Linked DNA regions of Homo sapiens: region 1 is linked to region 2. The links are contacts of gene promoters, found by promoter capture Hi-C in blood cells and fetal thymus (Javierre and others, 2016). All regions are on one chromosome and are shown on one strand. Each heading gives the region's core, a stretch centred on a gene start or on the middle of the fragment in contact. The rest is flanking DNA. Distances are from core to core; before and after follow the strand shown.

Region 1 (3,240 bases), core at 673-3,172, 440 kb after region 2:
CTTTAAAAACTCCCAATGCTTAGGCTACACTCCATATCAATAACAGCAGGATCTCCATGGGTGGGACATGAGCATTGGTAGTTTTTAGAGAAGCCCAAGTGATCCAATAAGCAGTGAAAGACTGAGAACCAGGGTCCTAGAAAATTTCAGAGGTTTCAAAGCAGCAGTAGCAGCCACAACAAATCATAACAGCCAAAGGAGTTAGTATAAGTGACAGTGTAGAGGGAAAGGAGCCACAGACATCACTTTGGATTAACAGGGAAGTTCAGTGCTTTGTGTAAAAGAAAGAAAAAAGATTTAGTGCACTAAATGAAGGATCAGAATCCTTAAGACTTTGACACCTGCGCCTTTCACTGGGAATGAAATAATTAGAAGTTAGGCCACCTGTGTGTGTGTATTTTCCTCACCTCAAATGAGATCAAGGTTCAATTATTTAGAACCTAGAGTCCAAAGAATAGAAAACACTAGATCAGCTTAAGCAAGTGGTTTACTGTTTTTCTTTCTTTGGTACTTAACTTTCTGCATACTCTCTATGCCTTCCACAATAGGCCCGTGTCAACTGGCAGTTGCACACAAGGCTTTCATGGTGATGGGATATGTGTCATTCAGAGTGAAAGAAAGAGAGAGGGAGAAAGACAGAGAGAGCGTGCAGAAGGAAGAAAGAAAAAGAAGGAAGGAAGAGAGGAAAGAAGAAATGCTTTATGGCCACATGTTTAAATATGTGCTGTTAGAACACTGATTTCAGCCATTTTTAAGACCACAAGCTTTTCAAAATTTCAACAGCTTTTAAATGTCTCTTTAGGCACAGAAACAATTATTATTATACATTAAGTTCTAGGGTACAAGTGCACAAAAGAAACCATTGATTTTTAAATTGCATTCCATGCTTTGGGAATTTTGTGAAGTCAGCACACAGTAATATTAATAATGGTGTTAATGTAAATATTCCCTCTTGGATCGTAAATGTCTTCATTACGAGATGACATAACTGGTACTTCACTAAAACTTGCTATTATTATCTCTTCAGCTAATAAATCATATTATGTTAAACTCATTTTAAATCCCACCTTTTAGGTAATATAGGATTATAATCATCCTATTCAACTCGGCTATGTTTTGAGAGGTGGAGGTATAAGAGATATTTTAAAGTCTATATTTAATTCTTATTCGCTTCCCTACTCACTGATAAATTTGCTATCAAAACTTCCCTAGTCTTAGGCTTTGACATATAGGTTACCAAAGACCTCCAAGTTTAAGAGACACCTTGGAATTCCCTTTTCTAACTTGCAATCTTTGCAGGCAAATTCAGGAAATTCAATGTCTAAATTCCACTTTCAGAGTCAACAGGGCATTCCACAAATCTATTCCAAGATTAAGGCAGAAACATCCGTATTTCTGCTATCTTGTCTGAGGAAGACAGAAACTAATAAAGGTAGTCCCCAAACTTGTGTACATTAAGATAAACCATCAATCTTTTAAAAAATTTGAAGCCTAGGCCATACTCCAAACCAATCAATCACATTTTCTGGGAGTGGGTCACAGGCACGAGTTAGTTTTTCAAAGTCCCCAGATGATCCTAATGTGAAGATAAAATTAGAACACCACTGATTAATGGCATCCATAGAATTTGTTTTAATTTAGCTAGGGCTATTGCATGAATTACAAGGTGTTGAAAATATCATTCCATCTCCATTTAAAAAAGGTAGATTTCCTTATGGTGAAAGGATCTGTTATATGGTCAACCTACAGGAACAAGTTAGGCTAGTCAGGACTACAGGGTTATTTTGTCTCAGTAAATGTGAATTACAATTGCAAGTAAAATTTCTTTTTATGAAAGCCAAAATAAGACAAGCCATTCATCTTCTCAAAACCATCTAATCATTATACAATGCAAATAGCAAAATACATGGGAGTATTTTACATCACAAGAAATTATTTTTAATATATTTCTTTGTGATTAATTCCTGCTTTTAAGATTATATTTGTGCATTAAAAATTATCCAAGTTCAGCAATAATGACAAGAAATAATAAATAAAATCAGGACGCAGTTTTGTCTGCATTTTACTTAATTATGAGTAATATTTAATAATAAACTCAGGAAGTAATTTTTGTCTGTTTTAATTATGAGTAACTATTTTATATATACAAAGAGTAGGTAGTTAATAAAAACACAAAATGGACAGGTGCAGTGGCTCACACCTATAATCCCAGCACTTTGGGAGGCAGAGGTGGGCGGATCACGAGGTCAGGAGATCAAGACCATCCTGGCTAACACAGTAAAACCCCATCTCTACTAAAATACAAAAAAAAAAAAAAAAAAAAGCCGGGCATGGTGGCACAGGCCTGTAGTCCCAGCTATTCAGGAGGCTGAGGCAGGAGAATCACTTGAACCCGGGAGGCGGAGGTTGCAGTGAGCCACGATTGCACCATGCCACTGCACTCCAGCCTGGGCAACAGAGTGAGACTCCATAAATAAATAAATAAATAAAACTACAAAATTTCTAGTACAAAATTTCAAAATTTTTGGTATATTTATGTGTATTATGAATAATATAGTGGCAAATCCATTCAGGGGAAATAGCATAGGTGTTTACTGATTCATTCAACATGTCTTTATTGAGCAACTACTATAGGGTAAGCCCAGAATTGGGTGCTATGGATTGAAGAATAACCAAGCTCTTTGCACTCATGAAGATTACAGTTTGATGGGGTTGAAATCCACTTAATAAATAAATATAAAAATAGTTTGTTAGAATTAGAATAAGAGCTATGAAAAATAATTTATGAGCCCACATAAATTACCTGACTTGGCCTGTGATACAATGTTGGGTCAGGGAAGACTTCCCTTTAAAATATAAGGTAAGACTTCATCAGTTGAAATGAGTACTAGAGGAAAATCAGAATGACTACAGTTAAGAACCTTAGTTTATTTCAGTTTGAGTTCCTCTTATCCCAAGTTTGAAAAATCTATAAAATGTGTTTTGTCAAAGAGGTATCTGCAAACATAGAAAGTAAACACTAACACGCGATATAAAAGTAAGTTACCATTTTCGTTGCCATTGATATAAAGTAAGCTTTGGCACAATAAGCATCCAGATCTGTCATCATTCTATTACTTCTTAGCCATGTGACATTAAGGACATCAGTTTATCTCTCAGCACCTCTTTGTCTTGTTGCCTTGTAGATATAGTGAACATTTATTATATCTGCCATGACTGTTACAACGATCACATGAAATG
Region 2 (3,347 bases), core at 848-3,347:
CCTTCTGGAGAGCAGGATGTAACTGGGTGACACTCCAATCTCCGGATCAATTGCTAGATTGACTTTCCCCCAGATACCCACACCCTCTGAACCCAGTTCTAGGAAATTTCAGGGTCTGGAGAGCAGTTTCCTGACCTCTGGACTAGGTAAACAATGAAAGCAAGCACTGTGATTAAAGCCAGCACCGCCAGTGACCTGGAGTCAACTACCTCACCTCACCTTCTGCCACTGGAGCAGGAGCAGGGGGAAGCTCTGGCTGCTAAAGAATAAGAAGGGAAACAAGTCTTCTCAGGCCCTGTCTTCTTTAGGCCCTGGATCTCCTGATATCCACTGATGGCTTTAGGCATGTGGCTCTGTACCATCCTGGACATTTTTCCAGGCACAGCAGACAGGTCAGCAGGAAGTAAGGAAGCCAGTCCCTCCACAAGCCAAGAAGACTTCAATTGGAAGGGACCTGGAAATGCATCTTACTCACATTTCTTTTGGTGTTTGGAGGCCTCCATAGTACCCCCACCACATGGCCCCGCAGCCTCTGAACTTCTCAGGATGGGCTCCCCAACACCCCAAGCTACATGGCATTTTTCTGAAAGCCATATCAGTAATGTAGTTGAGAATCAAATGAACTATGTTCGTAAAAGTATTCTTCCATCCCTTCTAGATTGTCCCCATTAACCACAGCAAGATGGTTCAAGCCATTAACACACACGATACCCATGATCTTATAGTGCCAAGTGCTGTTCTTTTGCTTCTTATCTCAGTTGAGTGGCTCCTAGATAGTCAAGTCATAAATGTGTGTGCCCATGAAAACTTCTTATTATCACTCACTATTCTAGCTAATTCTCAAGTGCAATCAATACCTCCTGTTTCTCAAGTGTGCCTACCTTCTTAATCTAGCTGCCATTACCCTGACCCAGGCCACTGTCTTCTGCTGCTTAGATCATGGCAAGCACTTCCTTTTAGATCTGCTTTTCTCCAGTCCTGTTCCCCTCAACATCATAGCCAGAACAAGCCTTGCAAAATTCAAATGTGATCACCTCTCCACTACTGCAGTCCCTCTAGTGCCCCCTGGAAGGAAACCCAAAGTCTTTAACACAGTTTACAATTCTTGTTATGAGGATGAAATTTGAAGACATTGTGCTAAGTGAAATAAGCCAGATACAAGGGGGCTATTGTATGATTTCACATATATGAGGTACCTAGGATAGATGAATTCAGAGAGACAGAAAGTAAAACAGAAGTTACCAGTGGCTGTGGGTAGGGGTAAATGGAGAATTCTAGTTTAATGAGTTGAGAGTTTCAGTTTGGGATGATGAAAATCATCCCATGATGTGGTGATGATAGCACAACCGTGTGAATGTACTTAATGCTACTGAGTTGTGTGCTTAATAATAATGGTCAAAATGGTAAATTTTATGTCTATTTTACCACAATGAAAAACTGGAAAAGTAAAGTCAATGACTATAATATCATAAAGTGTAAGTAACATGAGAGAAAATAATTCAGGCTAAGAGGATAGAGACTGCTAGGTAGGACTATTTTAGAATAAGTGATCAAGGTACTGATTTCTCTGAAATTGGAATATTTGAATAGAAGAGAAAGAGCTAGCTGGCGATGCCCGTAAGGGGTCCAGGCATGGAGACATCAAATGAAGAGTCTGAGGCAGGAATGGCCTTAATGCATTAATGGCAGCAAGAGGTCTATGTGGTTTCATGGATGGGTGTGTGCGTGCATGCACGTGTCTGTGTGTATAGTTGGTGTGCATGAGCATGTGTATGCATTTGTGAGTATCTTTGTTTTTCTGTTGGAAACAAGGATGTCAACAGGACTAACTAGGTGAACCTAGCTGTGGTAGTTCAGCAATGAGATTTGCCAAAATGGATGGCAATTGAAAGAGGAATTGTGCTGTATTAAAGCAGACAGCTGCCGAGCACTGTATTGGAGGCTCCTAAATTTCTCATAGTTCTGAGAAGAGCTGTTTATTAATCTGGAGTTGAAGGCCAGGCCCAGGATATCCTTGTTCACAAGGTTGATTGGGCCCTACATTGCTGAGCCCAGCCTCCTCCCTCACTCTGAGGCATCTGCCAGAGCCCCAGGCTAGAGGGCCAGCGTCCTTGTCACTGAGTCCCTGCTCTGCAGAAACACCAGTAAGTCATTTCTGGTGAATAAATCTGGGTTTCCGGATCAAGGGTTTGGGGAGCTGACATGACCCTGGAGGCATGGAGGAGGCTTTCTAGGGGTGGGGGGAGTGGGATGGAAAGCAGAAATCAGGTTGAGGATGTCTCTTTTTCTGCTTGTGCTGGAGCATCTGTGACTTTCCTCCATTATCTGTTCATCTGCAGTGGAGACTGTCTTTGTTTTCAAAGGGAAACTTGGAGGCTTAGACCTATGGGGCTAGGCTGCTGAGGTTTCTTAGGGGGCAATAGCTGGAAGAAAGCTCTGAAGAACAAATGAAAGGTTAATACTGAGAAATGGGAGGAGGATTCAAGGCAAGTTTTCTAATTGCCAGTGGTTTTTGACTCACAGAACATGGGGAATTCCTGCCAGAAAGTAGAGAGGTATTTAGCACTCTGCCAGGGCCAACGTAGTAAGAAATTTCCAGAGAAAATGCTTACCCAGGCAAGCCTGTCTAAAACACCAAGGGGAAGCAAACTCCAGTTAATTCTGGGCTGGGTTGGTGACTAAGGTTGAGGTTGATCTGAGGTTGAGACCTTCCTCTTTGGATCACCAGCTTTCAGCTCAGGGCCTGCCAATGAGTAAATGATAGTTAACAGGTCCTGGAGGGGAATCAGCTGCCCAGATACAAAGATGGGATTCAGGTGGCAGATGGACCCGAAGAGGACATGGAGAGAAAGAGGAAGCTCCTACAGACACCTGGGTTTCCACTCATTCTCATTCCCTAAGCTAACAGGCATAAGCCAGCTGGCAATGCACGGTCCCATTTGTTCTCACTGCCACCGAAAGCATGTTTATAGTCTTCCAGCAGCAACGCCAGGTGTCTAGGCACAGATGAACCCCTCCTTAGGATCCCCACTGCTCATCATAGTGCCTACCTTTGTTAAAGTACTAGTCACGCAGTGTCACAAGGAATGTTTACTTTTCCAAATCCCCAGCTAGAGGCCAGGGATGGGTCATCTATTTCTATATAGCCTGCACCCAGATTGTAGGACAGAGGGCATGCTCGGTAAATATGTGTTCATTAACTGAGATTAACCTTCCCTGAGTTTTCTCACACCAAGGTGAGGACCATGTCCCTGTTTCCATCACTCCCTCTCCTTCTCCTGAGTATGGTGGCAGCGTCTTACTCAGAAACTGTGACCTGTGAGGATGCCCAAAAGACCTGCCCTGCA

What was found. Contacts are between HindIII fragments. The CHiCAGO score rates a contact against its expected background, and 5 or more counts as called.
Region 1: a contact is called between a fragment that was not itself captured here and the fragment with the promoter of MBL2 in region 2, in 1 of 17 cell types (megakaryocytes). The highest score is 5.0, in megakaryocytes.

Annotation. Positions count from the first base shown.
Region 1 is chr10:52,329,147-52,332,386 of GRCh38, reverse strand. No RefSeq gene overlaps it. Among named protein-coding and RNA genes, the nearest start is that of DKK1, 16 kb to the right of the region's middle. The HindIII fragment of the contact is 2,311 bases long and covers 767-3,077 here.
Region 2 is chr10:52,771,534-52,774,880 of GRCh38, reverse strand. It overlaps MBL2 (mannose binding lectin 2), which reads left to right and starts at 2,097. Exons shown (of 5, transcript NM_001378373.1): 1 at 2,097-2,144; 2 at 3,237-3,347. The coding sequence starts at 3,246. The HindIII fragment of the contact is 7,250 bases long and covers 1-3,347 here.